Regions from separate parts of the Homo sapiens genome. Here region 1 is linked to region 2. The links are contacts of gene promoters, found by promoter capture Hi-C in human tissues and cell types (Jung and others, 2019). All regions are on one chromosome and are shown on one strand. The core of a region is centred on a gene start or on the middle of the fragment in contact, and the rest is flanking DNA. Distances in the headings are between cores, read along the strand shown. Region 1 has its middle 25 kb from the start of ZNF252P-AS1. Region 2 holds the start of ZNF250 (zinc finger protein 250).

Region 1 (6,757 bases), core at 1,054-3,553, 75 kb after region 2:
ACATATTCCAAACTGATAAGGTTAATCTGGAGAAATGTTTTAGCCATAAAACCCAAAACCGGATTTGAGTAAATACCGAGGTTCTTAGTTAAGTAAACACCTCCATCTTATGTAAACAGGTTTAAAACAAAAAAAATATTATTTTCTGATTTGGTTGTGTAATCGTGGGCCTCAGAGGAAAAGCTTCCTAACCCTTTTGTCATATATATATATATTTTTTGGAGTCTTGCTTTGTGGCCATGCTGGAATGCAGTGGTGCAATCTTGGCTCACTGCTACCTCCGCCTCCTGGGTTCAAGCAATTCTCCTGCCTCAGCCTCCCAAGTAGCTGGGACTACAGGCGTGCACCACCATGCCCAGCTAATTTTTGCATTTTGTAGAAATGTGGTTTCACCATGTTGGCCAGGATGGTCTTGATCTCTTGACCTCGTGATCTGCCCACTTCAGCCTCCCAAAGTGCTGGGATTACAGGTGTGAGACACCGCGCCCAGCCTCCTTTTGTCATCTCTTGATGGAACCTCAAAGAAGAGATCCTTGGGGGAAACTGAATTTCTTTTTGCTTCCTTCTTAAAAGTTCTTCTCTAGAAGAAGTTGTAACTGGGTAACAAGCTCTAAGTCCCTGGATCAGCCTGCAGGCAAGAGAGCTGGGTGAATTGACATTTAAGTTTTGACTTAACTTCAGGAGATTAAGGTTTCCAGCCACCTCAGGAAAAGCCATGAACTCTGTTCTTGCAGTGTAACATAGCTATCTGTGATGGGTAAGTGAAGCCATAAGCCACAGGCTCCCACCCTTGGACATTTTCCTGATTTTTCTTCATGACAACATATCTAGAAGACCCATCTACCAAATCCTGTTTAAGTAAAATGTACAATTTCCCATTTTGAATTAGTTGGATATATTGGGCCAGCTACAAGACTGCAAGCTCCTTGCTGGCAGCGTCTTAACTCTTGGAAACCTGGAGGTGGATTACAGTGTTATCTGACTTTTTAGCAAGGTCTCAACTATTTTAATCTACACAAAGACTCACCTTATTCCTTGACAAACTTTTGCTTATAATCATGTTTCTCTTCCCTGTGAATTGAAGCTTAAGGTATCATATTCCTTATAACAGAATAAAAACGTTTTGAAGAGGCCCAAACAAACAAAGAAAACCCTAGCCTGGTTCCATCACACTTGGAAGTGCAAGGATCTCAACTACTTTCTTTGAAGTTGAAATAAATCATACAAAAAAAAAAAAAAAAAAAAGCAAAGCAAAGCAAAGTAAGTGGTCTCCAGTGAAATACCTAACTGTACCTTAGGGTCTGGTGCCATGAAATGCATCTAAATAATTAAGTTTCACATATCTACAGGGCTCAAGAAGGGGGCTCATCCTCTGAATCTGAAGCAAGGTGTGCTATTGTGGGATTGCTGCTATATACTTCAGCAGCCTGCCTTTAGTTAGCAGCTCACTGGGAGAGTGAAATCCCTTAAGAGCTGAATCTCCAAAAGGAAAACCATAAAGTGACTCATTTCTCACGAGTATGACTCTCATATAATGTATAACTGTGAAGAATTTATAGACTAATCAGTTACTCTCCACTGTGAACTGTACAATGTTGAATGAAAGATGACTGTGCGCTAGAGTTCCCCACACTTACTACATTCATAGACTTGCTCTCTAATGTGAATTGTATGGATTTTCTCATGACTACTAAGAGTTATTCTCTAACTGAAGGTTTTTTCACATCGATTACACGTATGAGGTTGCTCCCCACTGTGAATTCTCTGATGTTGAATAAGGTGAGAGCTTTGTCAGAAGGATTTTCCACATTTGGCACATACATAGGGTTTCTCTCCAGTGTGAATTCTCTTGTGTTGGATAAGGGATAAGCATGCACTGAAGGATTTCTCACACTCATTGCACATGTAGGGTTTCTCTCCAGTGTGAATTCTCTGATGTTGGATAAATTGTGAATGCTGACTGAACGCCTTGCCACAGTCACTACATTCATAAGGTTTCTCACCAGTATGAATTCTGTGATGCTGAATGAGAGAGGAACAAACATTGAAGGCCTTCCCACATTCACTGCACTCATAGGGATTCTCTCCAGTGTGAATTCTTTGATGGTGGATAAGGTGTGCACTCTGGCTGAAGGCCTTCCCACAGTCACTGCACTCATAGGGCTTCTCTCCATTGTGTGTTCTCTCATGCTTAATTAGGGTGGATATCTGCCCAAAGGTTTTCCCACACTCATTACACTCATAGGGTTTCTCACCAATGTGACTCCTCTGATGCTGAATAAGGTGTGACCCCTGGCTAAAGGCCTTCCCACATTTGTGACACTCATAGGGTTTGTCTCCATTATGTATTCTCTGATGTTGAACAAGGGAAGAAAGCAAACTGAAGGCTTTATCACATTCATTACATTCATAGGACTTCTCACCATTGTGTGTTCTTTGATGGTGAATAAGATTAAAACTCTGGCTGAAAGCTTTTCCACACTCACTACATTCATAGGGTTTCTCTCCTGTGTGAATTCACTGATGCTGAATAAGATGTCCCTTTTGACTAAAGGTTTTCCCACACACACTACAACCATAAGGTTTCTCTCCAGTGTGAATTCTCTGATGCTGGATAAGGGATAGACGAGCACCAAATGATTTTCCACACTCATTGCAGATATAAGGTTTCTCTCCAGTGTGAATTCTCTTATGTTGAATAACTTGTGAGCATTGACTAAAGGATTTCCCACATTCATTACACCTATAAGGTTTCTCTCCAGTGTGAATTCTCTGATGGACAGTAAGAGTTCGGTTCAGGCTAAAGGATTTTGCACATTCATTACATTCATAGGGCTTTTCTCCTGTATGAATTCTCTGATGCTGAATGAGAAATAATTGTGTACTGAAGGCTTTGCCACACTCCTTACAGTCATAAGGTTTCTCTCCAGAATGAATTCTCTGATGCTGAATAAGGTTTGATTGTCTGTTGAAGGCTTTCCCACATTCTTTGCACTTGTAAGGTTTCTCTCCACTATGAATTCTCTGATGATGAATTAGATTAGAGCTATGACTAAAGGCTTTCCCACACTGATTACACTCATGATGTTTCTCTCCTGTATGAATTTTTAGATGTTGAACATAAGATGAATGTGTACTAAAAGCTTTCCCACATTTAATACACTCATAGGGTTTTTCTCTAGTGTGAATTTTACAATGCTGAATAAAGTATGAGTGAACACTGAAAGATTTGCCACAATCCTCACATGTGTAGAGTTTCTTACCAGTGTGGATTCTCTGATGTTTACTGAGGATAGAGGGCCAACTGAAAGCTTTTCCACATTCATTGTGCTCATAGGTCTTCTCTCCACTATGAAATCTCTGGTGCTGGTTAAAAGCTCTGTTCTGATTGTAAGTTTTTCCACACCCAGTACTCTCAAACCATCTCTCTGGATTATTCATCCTCTGATTCTCACTAAGAACTGAGCTCTGTCTGGGCACTTTCACTAACACATCTGTCTGATAGGCTCTTTCTCCTAATTGGAAACTCTGGAGGTTAATGAGGTCCTCATGTTGTTGCAAGTTTTCTACACTTGACACACTTGGATGGAGACTCTCCTCTCTAGACCCTCTAAGATGTTTGGCAGGATTTGAGTCTGTAATGCAGTTTTCTCCAACAGCATTGAACTTCTGGCCATTCTCTCTAGAGAGGGTTTTCACATACCTCATGGTAATTTCTCTGAAATTGCTCTTCTGGGAGAATGAGTTCTTAACTCCTTCTACTGCATATTTTCTCCAGCAATTCTCTAACTTTCCCTCAGTTTTACTCATCTCTTCAGTTTCCTTAAAAATATTCCTTACATGATCTTCTGATTTTGCTCTCTGGGATTCCAATTCTTCAGAAATGTCCTGCTTTGGAATCATTTCCTCTTTTTCAATCCTAGAATCACAGCCTGAAAGAATGAAAAAGAAAAAAAAAGTGAATCGCTTGCATTTTACTATGGAAGAAAGAATTAGAGAATAAACAGAAATATTTGTATCAAACAAATATCTTCTAGGATAATACTGATATTCAGAATGCAAATAAAAAAAAAAGCAACAAATATGACCCCATTGGGGAGAGGAAAAAGAGAAGCATGCTGGTAAAGCAATGAACACTGGTGTGGGAAGGAAGAAGGAAGGTAATATGCCCAAGGTCAAAGGCTTAAATCTGCAACCAGGCTGACCTTTCCTGGAGTAGGAAAGGCAAGATCTGAGAAAGGATTTGGGGAGAGTTACCAGGAGGGAGGAATTGGAGGCTGCCTCCACTATTCATGTCATTGCTGCATACTTTGTAAACAAGGTATCTTCTTATGGCTTACACATAGCATACTCAAATATTTGTTGAAAATAAATGATAAATGACTCATAATAAATGAGGTGTACATCAGTGCAATAGATGATGAAAAAAACTATTTGATCTAGACAACTTGGTTTCACAGAAGCAAATCAGGAAAAACAGAAAAAAGCAGCAACCTACTCAGGAAATAGCTTGGGCAGCACAAGGCAAAAAGGCCAAGTATAAACAACAGTCCCAAATCACACATTTCCAGTGAACAAAAGTGTCCAAAAATTTGTGAAAACTATAAAACTGAATTCTGAGACCCAATGAAAGGAAGCTTATTAAAAAGAAAAATCCAAAACCAACCAACAAAACAAATAAACAAACAAAAAACAAGCACTAAGTCACATAGATACAAAGACTGTGGGAAGGATAACTGAGGTCAGAACAGTAAGAGGGCAGCCCTGTGTTGAGATACCACAAAAGGACAATGGAATCTTCTTTTTGCAAATGGCGGTTATCATTAGTTATAATGGGATGCTCCTTGAGACTGCACTGCTTGAACAGGGAGACTGAGCTAAAAATACTAACTGGATGAGGCCTAAAATTGAGTTAAGTATGGCTGGGTGTGGTGGATCACGCTTGTAATCCCAGCACTTTGGGAGGCCAAACCGGGTGGATCACCTGAGGTCAGGAGTTTTAGACCAGCATGGCCAACATGGCAAAACCACATCTCTACTAAAAATACAAAATTTAGCTGGGCATGGTGGCGGGTGCTTCTAATCCCAGCTACTTGGGAGGCTGAGGCAGGAGAATAGCTTGAACTCAGGAGGTGGGGGTTGCAGTAAGTCAAGATTGTGCCACTGCAGTCCAGCCTGGGTGACAGAGCAAGACTCTGTCTCAAAAAATAAAATAAAATAAAATAAAATAATAAAATAAAATAAAATAAAACAAAAAGCTAAGTAATCGCAATAGATTTCTGTGAACTACTCATGGTACTACAGAGGGATTGATTTTGCCATTCAGAGTATGAAAGGAAAAAAGCAAACTTCATAATTTACTCTAGAAACCTACAAACAGTGTCCTAGAAGATAAACATCCTGAATGTAGGGAGAAAAATTTCTGAGGTATCTGAGGAGTTGAGTCCTCAAGGTAGTCTCAGGACTAAAGTCTGACAGATGATTCTATTAGGTGTTATTTTGCTGGGAGGAGACAAAATAAATGTGAACAAAATGAGAAACCATAAGAGAGAGTCATCCATAAGACAAGAACCAACATCTCACACTAAAGTTCATATTGCCATTTCCCTCAGATATCTGGTGATCCTTGGTTGGCGGTGTTTAATTTCTTTCTTTCTTTCTTTTTTTTTTTTTTTGAGACAGAGTTTTTTTGCTCCTGTTGCCCAGGCTGGAGTGCAATGGCACAATCTTGGCTCACCACAACCTCTGCCTCCTGGGTTCAAGTGATCCTCCTGCCTCAGCCTCCTGAGTAGCTGGGATTACAGGCACATGCCACCATGCCCAGCTAATTTTTGTATTTTTAGTAGAGACAGGATTTCACCATGTTGGCCAGGATGGTCTTGATCTCTTGACCTCATGATCTGCCCACCTTGGCCTCCCAAAGTGTTGGGATTACAGGTGTGAGCCACCGTACCCAGCCAATATCAGAATCTTGAAGATAGGTTTGCACTCCCATGTTCACTGCAGCATTATTCACAATAGCCAAGAGGTGGAAACAACCTAGATGTCCATCAACAGATGGATGTATAAAGAAAATCTGGTATATCCATATGATGAAATATTCAGCCATAAAATATTGTAGAAGAAAATCCTGTCCTATGCAACTACACAAATGAACTCTGAGGACATTATGCTAAGTGAAATAAGACATCATAGAAGGATGAATACTGCACAGTTCCACTTAAATGAAGTATCTAAAATAGTCAAACTGATAGAAACAAAAAGTGCAATCGTGGTTGCCAGGGGTTGGTTGCCAGGGGTTGGGGAGAGGGAGAAATGGGGAGTTGCTATTCAGTGGGTACAGGGTTTCAGTCATGCAAGGTTTTGAGAAAGTTCCAGAGACCTGCTCTACAGCATTTTGCTATTGTATTGTATACTTAAAAGTGTTTAAGAATGTAGACTGATCCTCATGTTATATAATTTTACCACAATTTAAGAAATACTTTAATAATGGTGGGAAACTTCTGATATTTCCTGGAAAACATTAAACTGCACATCCAAGAGGCCCAAAGAACTCCAAATGGGATAAACACAAAGATACCAACACTCAGAAACATCATGGTAAAAACGTTAAATGTTAATGACAAGGAGAAAATCTTGAAAGCAAGAGAAAAACAACTTATCATGTACAAGGGTGCCCCAATAAGATAAACAGCAGACTTCTTATCAGAACTAATGGAGGTCAGAAGACAGTGGATAACATATTCAAAGTTCTGAA
Region 2 (7,312 bases), core at 317-2,816:
AAATAATCTTGGAGTGGGGAAAGCCCTTTAAAACACAGCACAAAGCCCAAAATGCCTTAAGGCAAAATATTTGACTCCTAAAAATTTTAAATTTTCTATTTTGAAAAAGCCCAAACCAGAATCAAACACCATAATCAGAGTCAAAAGACAAATTGAGAAGCATGTTTTCAACATACATGGAAAAAAATATGAGCTGGCAAATCACAAAGAAATACAAATGGCGAAAACACAAATGAAGGGATTTCAATCTCACCAATAAACGCAAAACGTCGACCTGGCAGGAATGCAGTGACCTGTCAAAGCCCACAGGACCAGAGTCCCGTCCAGGGCGGGAATGTCAATGGCAATCTCCCACCCTTACCCACTTCGTAGAGACCACCGGACAGAGAAACCTATGTCCAGAAGACAAGTTACGAACTGAAAAATCTGCGAGTACCCACCCGGCGGAGGACGAGTGGAGCGCCCCCTGCCGCCCCTGGTGTTAGTCAAACGACACCAGCTTCCCTTTGATGACAGAAAAAAGGGTGTGCGTGCGTGCCTAAAGCTCTAACGGCATTCAAAAATTCTGAAACTGTTCACAGCTCCTGCCTCTTCATACACTGGCAGAGTGTCGGGGGGGATGACTTTTATATATTTCTGACATGCCTGCATTAGAAGAAGTATTGCATATTATTTTCAATTTTAAAATTAAGCCAATAAACAACAAGGAAAATATTTGCTGTGTTGCAAAGAGTTGGGCTCATTCATTAAAATAGGGCTCTAACACAGTAACAGAAAAGACAGCATCGACAGCAAAATGGGGAGAGGATAAGACACCCGGCAAGTAGCACACTCGACCAACTGCTGAAACGAAAGCAGCTCGTTTTCGTCTTGACGCGGGAAGACTTTTTATAGCTAAGTAAAGTGGCGCTCCCGGTGCGCCGCCGGGGTCTTCATGGGGCTCCTCAGGATGTGCATCAAACAGAAAAAACCTCCATTTTTATATTTTGGGGAAGCTCCCCACCCCTTTCCGGGCCCATCCCAGGGGACGCGAGACCCCGAGGAGCGCGGCAAGAAGAGCGGCCCGGGGGTCCGGACTGCGCCCCTAGGACTCCGGCCATCCTGGCCCTAGGCACGGCGCCCGGTAGAAAGCGCGCGGGAGGGCACGAGGGGGAGGAAGGCCGGAGATCTGAGGAGATCCAAGGTGGGAGGGACGCCGGTCTGACGGGGCCCAAGGGGGTAGGGGCGGGGAAGGGACCGAGGCCGTCCGAGGCGGACGGGGGTGCGGGAGGGCCTGAGGGGGTCCAAGGCCGGGCGAGGGGAAGGGTGGGAACCCCGAACGGGGGAGAGGGCGCGGCCTTGGCCCTGGGGAGGAGGCCGCCGCGCGTCCGTGAGGGGAGGGGACCAGCGTAAACGCAGGAGGCAGTGCGTGCTCGCGGGGAAGAGTCCACGATTCGTGTGGAGGACGCACCGGCTCCGGTGTCCGTGATGGGAGAGGGTCCTGGCCGGCGACGACACGCGCCCCCCACTCACCGTCAGAGCCGCAGCCTCACGCGCGAAGGAACGGCATCCCGCAGCACCTTCAGACAAAGGGCTGCCCCGCCCCGTCTGCGCAGCCGCCAATCCCTGGGGGCTCCTGCCCCTCAGTTCCCGCCCCCACAGCCGAGTTCGCCAATCCTGGAGGGCAAGCATGTTTACGTCATTTGGCCCGCCTGCCCGCCCGAAGCCTTTCTCGGTGACCGACTGCAGGGAGCTCTCAGGAGCCACCGAGAGCCAGACCTCCGCGATCCCTAGAGGGGCCGAACACCTCTGGGCAATGGGCCCGGCCGGCTCCCCGGCCGCACTTCCGGGCGCGGAGGTTACAGCCCATCGCCGAGCCTTACCCGCTCGCAGTCCCGGTTCCCGAGCTCCTGCCGCCGTCGCCCTGTGGAGGACACCCCTGCCGGCCCCGCAGTCCCTCCTCGACTTGCGCTGGCTTCGGCCGTCCTGGAACTCGAGCTCGTTCCCCCCTCCGAGCCTTTTGCCCTTGCGGTTCCCGCTGCTGGGAACGACCTTGCCCTCAGCCGCCTGGCTGGTCCCTGCGCCGCTGCAGTGCGAATGTCGCCTTCTCAGGGGCCCTTTCTCTTCCTTCGTTGCAACACTGAAGTCCTCTTGTTTGATGACTTGCGTGAGGTTATTCCTCCCACTTAGGAGGCTGAGTGCTGCGAGGTCCGAGGCGCAGCCGCTCTTCGCTGTGTCCGGCCCGGCGTGCTCCCGACAGGGGGCGTCACTGAACAGCGACCGTCTCCGTCGCCCACTCGGCCCTGGTGTTTGCTTTTTGGTGTGTTTACACCGCGCACCTGGGGGAGAGGGGCGGGCCTTCACGAGGGCGCGGGCCACACCCGTGTGGAGGCTTCGGGCACAGCCCAGGACCTGACAGCCGCGGCAGGGAGGGTGGGGCTGGTTTGGAGCGGTGTCAGGGGACGGGAAGGCTGACGCCTAGTCCACCTTCTGCTGGCCCCACTCCCGAAGGTCAGGTCCGCGTCGTCCATTGGGCGCGTGGGCGGGCCCAGACTCTCAAGAGGCTTCCCCACAGGGCGGGGCTGGGGGCTGCGTGGGGGCGGCGGGGAAGGCTTAAGGTTAGGGGGTAGGCTTGAAGCGAGTGCCCGGCCCGTGCTGTTGGGAGCGGAGGCCGGGAGGATGTGGCGATAATTCCGTACTTGCCGCGCACCAGGCAGACGCGAAGTCTGTGCTACGCTTCAGCGAACTTAGCAGCCCTTGCGGGCAGGGGTTCGCACTTCACGGAGCTACCATCCACCACGCGCGTTTCGAGCAATGGGCCCGTTGCCTGGCGCACTAGAAGCCAAAACGGTGGCACCAGTTTTTGAGAAAAGAGAAGGCTTTATTATTTCAAGGTCGACGGCCAAGGAGACCGGAGGCATGGCTCAAATGTGGCTCCCACATGTGGGCTTAGGTCAAAGTCGACGGGTTAGGGAGGACAGGTTGGCACACAGAAGTGCTGGCGGGCAGGTTTCAATAGGAGGGCTTTAAACTTGGCCATTTATGGTAAGGTGTGGAATGGCAGGTTTCAGCACCAGATCTTCCAGGATAATGGACCCTTCCCTTCTGAAAGCGTTCCGCCCCTCAAGCTCCGGTCATGTCCCTGTCTTCTTGGCTCCACAGGGAGGAAACGTTGGTTCCGAGTTATGATTTTCCTCCTTTGTGCATGTCCGGGTTACATGACTTTCAGTTTTGGCTCTGCTATACCTCCTGTTACCAACAGAATAGGGTCAGTTTGGGCCAGTCTTGTGGTTACACCTCAGTGTCACAGGATTTCCTCTGCCAAAGGGCTGTGAAGCTCAGGACCAAGGTAATCAAAATTCAGCTCTACTATTGGATTGTCCTGGATTGTTTTAGCAGTTGACAGGGATCAAGCTCTGTCCCAGCAACCTTGATCCCAACAGAGAACTGATGCTCCTAGGACCTTCACCTCAGACCTCAGTGCATCCTGGTTTTTGTTTTTCTTCCTCCTCCACAACTTTTTTATTTTGCAAATGTTGATACATTCATAAAGGTTGAAAGAATAATACAATGAATACCTCCGTGCCCTTCACTTAGATTTAGCAGCTGACATCCTCTCTAGCACGTCCCTTCTGTGTCTCTGTCACTCTTTTTCCTTCAACAGCACAATGTTTATTGAGTGCTTGTGTGCTAAGCACTAAGTGTCGGGGCTACATCAGTGAACAAGCAAGTGCCTAACAAATCCATGTCTTTCTGGACCATACATGTGAATGGAGACAGTAGGCAATACGCAGAATAAATGTAGGAATTACAGAGTGTGTCCAGAGATGGTGAGGACTACAGAAGGTCTGGGCAGGTGCCATTGTGTCTGCTGGTTCACCTGGGCGACATGAGGCAGCAGCTGCCCCCTCTTCCTCTGGCTCCTTCAGCTCCAAGACTAAAGGCTCCAGCTTCTCCTATAGGGCAACAAAGGGGTTTCAGCGCATCCTGGGCTCCAGCTTGAGGTCACAGACCTCAACTTGTCTCTCCTCACTTTACATCCATCTTCCCTTCCCAACTGTCTGCCCTGTTCCAGCATCAGATGCAAAGACAACAGCCTTACAGGAACTGTTAACTATGTGCCACAATGGTGTAAGGCACAGTCCCTGCAACAAATCGTATATGATATATATAATATATATACACACAATTTACGTATCGTTCATGAGTATACAGTTTACTTTTTTTATTTTTTATCCTTTTTTTGAGACCGAGTTTCGTTGTCGCCCAGGCTGGAGTGCAATGGCATGATCTTGGCTCACCGCAACCTCTGCCTCCTGGGTTCAAGCCATTCTCCTACCTCAGCCTCCTGAGTAGCTGGGATTACAGGCGCCTGCCATCATGCCCAGCTAATTTTTGTATTTTTAGTAGAGATGGGGTTTCGCCATGTTTTGACACCAGTTGTTTTGGAAAAACTCAAACTGTTTTTTTTTCTGCTCTCACACTGCCACAAGTGGGATTCAAACCCACACCTACCTTAGGAGACCAGAAAATTGTTTCAGAAAAACTCTCAAACCCTATTTTTCCTCTGCTCTCATACTAACAACACAGAAGACTTATGTAGCCCCAAAATATATGGGGATTTCTCCTCATCAGCAAGCCATCAATTCTACTGGGTGTCCTCCAGTTCAGCTCCTTCACTGTCTACCTGGAGATAGTGCCGGATCCCACAGGATGAGGGCTCAGTTCCCGACTCCCCAATCCCCGACAGGAGTCACAGCCTGGGCCTCCAGAACTGATTGACTTCCTTCAAGTCAGTTCACGACTCCCCAGTCCCCGACGTGAGTCATAGCCCGGGCCTCCAGAACTGATTGACTTCCTTCAAGTTGGGGTTTCCATGACTCCCTCTTTGGGTTTGATTTGCTAGAACAGCTCACGGAACTCAGGGAAACCCTTACTTATGTTTGCCAGTTTATAATGAAGGATATTACAGAGGATACAAATAAAGAGATGTGTAGGGCAAGGCATGGGGAGAGGGGTGCAGAGCCTCTGTGCCCTTGCAGGGCACACAGCCCTCCAGGAACTTCCATGTGTTCGGCTCTCCAGAAGCTCTACAAACCCAGTCCTCTTGGGTTTTCATGGAAGCTTCATGACATCGATATTTTTTCCACCAGGCTATGAGGTGGGACCCTCTCTGGAATGATGGTCTTATGACCCACAATCAGAGAGGTAGGGGAAGATTAGGGTCCTGCGGGCAGGAGGTCAGAGAGATTTTGTTCTCTGAAGCCTAATGCATCCAATGTTATAACAAACGAGTGTAACAAGGGCTATGGCAGTTATGAGCCAGAAACCATACAAACGTGTGTGTGTGTGTGTGTGTGTGTGTGTGTGTGTGTATGGAAAGAGAGAGAGAGACCAGAAGTGCTATGCTGGAAACTATTCTTTTGAGGTTGTGTTCACATTTTTTTTAACCAATTTAACATATTATGTTACTATCTCACTTAAGATTGGCATTGACTGTACAACAGAAAGCTGATTACAGTGGCTGAACCAAATAGGTGGTTTTTTTTATGAGTCAATTTTTCTAGGAATACGGAGCCCATCCAAGGCCACACAATGCCACCAGGCCTCTAGGCTCCCCCTTTATTTTCCATTGGCCATCTTAATAAGCAGCTTTCATTTTTTTTTTTTTTTTTTGCCTCATGATTGCAAGAAGACTGCTTCATCACTAGAATCACATCCAGATTCCAGGCAGAAAGAGAAAAAACAAAAGACAAAATCAAATGTATGCTCAGCCAACCCCATGTCTTTCAGAACTGCACCCTGTGACTTTTACTTATGTATTTTTGGTCTAAAGTGTGTTACAAGACCAATTCTAGCTCCAAGGGTGATTAGGAAAATGTGTTTTTTCAGCTGGGTAAAGTGCCATGTTTAACATTAAAAATTGCCAAAAATCAGGCTGGGCACGGTGGCTCATGCCTGTAATCCCAGCACTTTGGGAGGCTGAGGTGGGCGGATCACGAGGTCAGGAGATCGAGACCATCCTGGCTAACACGGTGAAACCCAATCTCTACTAAAAAAAAAATACAAAAAATTAGCCAGGCGTGGTGGCAGGCACCTGTAGTCCCAGCTACTTGGGAGGCTGAGGCAGGAGAACGGTGTGAACCCAGGAGGCGGATCTTGCAGTGAGCCAAGATCGCGCCACTGCACTGCAGCCTGGGTGACAGAGCGAGACTCCGTCTCAAAAAAAAAAAATTGCCAAAAATCCCTGATGGTGTTTTTGTGATGCAATGTGAGAACTTACAGGTAATCAATTTGACACCAGATAAGTGATAAAGAGTAAACTTAAAAATCAATTTAAAATTCATATCCTCAGATCTGATTTCATTAACTATCATTCAGTTTATCCTCAACCTAATTAATATGTACAACTGAGGATATTTAGAAATACTCTGTTCAGAGAAGAGAAATAAACATTTCTTATGGGGAAATATACTATAAGGCTGATAATAAATTGATTTTTAAAAATATATTTGACTGCTATGTCCTTACTGCTGTATTTTTGTTGCTTTATTGAGGTATAAATTGCACAGACAATAAATTGAACATACTTTTAGTTTGATGAAAATGTTGACCTAAGTAGATGCCTGTGAAACTATCCCCACAATTAAGATACTAAACAGGTCCATCAGCCCCAAACGCCCCCATCCCTGGGTCTGCTTTCTGTCACTCTAACTCAGTTTGTAGTTTGTATGATATTATATAATCATAGAAGATACATTATTTTGGAGTATGGGTGGGTCCGGCCTCTTTCACTCAGCATAGTTATTTCGAGATTTAGCCATTTGCTGCATATATCAATAGTTTGTTCCTTTAAATTGTTGGGCAATACTCCATTGTATGTATGTACGATAACTTTTTAATCCATTCACCAGATATTGGACATGGGTTGTTTCCATTTTTTAGCTACAGACATTTGTATGTAAGTTTTTGTGTGTATCTATGCTTCCTTTTTTCTCTTTTTCTTCTTTCCTTTTTCTTTCTTTCTTTTTCCCTCCCTCCCTCTCTCTTTTTTTTCTCTCTGTCTTCTTTGAGATGGACTCTCACTCTGTTGTCCAGGCAGGAGTGCAGTGGCGTGATCCAGGCTCATTGCAACATCTGCCTCCTGGGTTCAAGCAATTCTTCTGCCTTAGCCAACTGAGTAGCTGGGATTACAGGCAGGCACCACCACGCCTGGCTAATTTTTGTAGTTTCAGTAGAGATGGGGTTTCACCATGTTGGCCAGGCTGGTCTCGAACTCCTGACCTCAAGTGATCCACCTGCCTCTTCCCCACAAAGTGCTGGGATTACAGGT

What was found. The method cuts DNA at HindIII sites, captures the fragments that hold promoters and counts their contacts. A contact is called where the count stands out against the background at its distance.
Region 1: a contact is called between a fragment that was not itself captured here and the fragment with the promoter of ZNF250 in region 2, in 4 of the 25 tissues and cell types used here (H1 embryonic stem cells, lymphoblastoid cells, mesendoderm cells and 1 more).

Annotation. Positions count from the first base shown.
Region 1 is chr8:144,974,622-144,981,378 of GRCh38, forward strand. It overlaps the pseudogene ZNF252P. Among named protein-coding and RNA genes, the nearest start is that of ZNF252P-AS1, 25 kb to the right of the region's middle. The HindIII fragment of the contact is 3,341 bases long and covers 634-3,974 here.
Region 2 is chr8:144,899,887-144,907,198 of GRCh38, forward strand. ZNF250 (zinc finger protein 250) reads right to left here and starts at 1,567. Exons shown (of 6, transcript NM_001109689.4): 1 at 1,513-1,567. It overlaps LOC124902042, which reads left to right and starts at 1,738. Exons shown (of 1, transcript XM_047422534.1): 1 at 1,738-2,395. The coding sequence starts at 1,796. The coding sequence ends at 2,395. RefSeq lists enhancers at 913-1,517, 1,518-2,120, 2,121-2,724 and silencers at 1,251-1,360, 2,421-2,500. The HindIII fragment of the contact is 10,274 bases long and covers 1-7,312 here.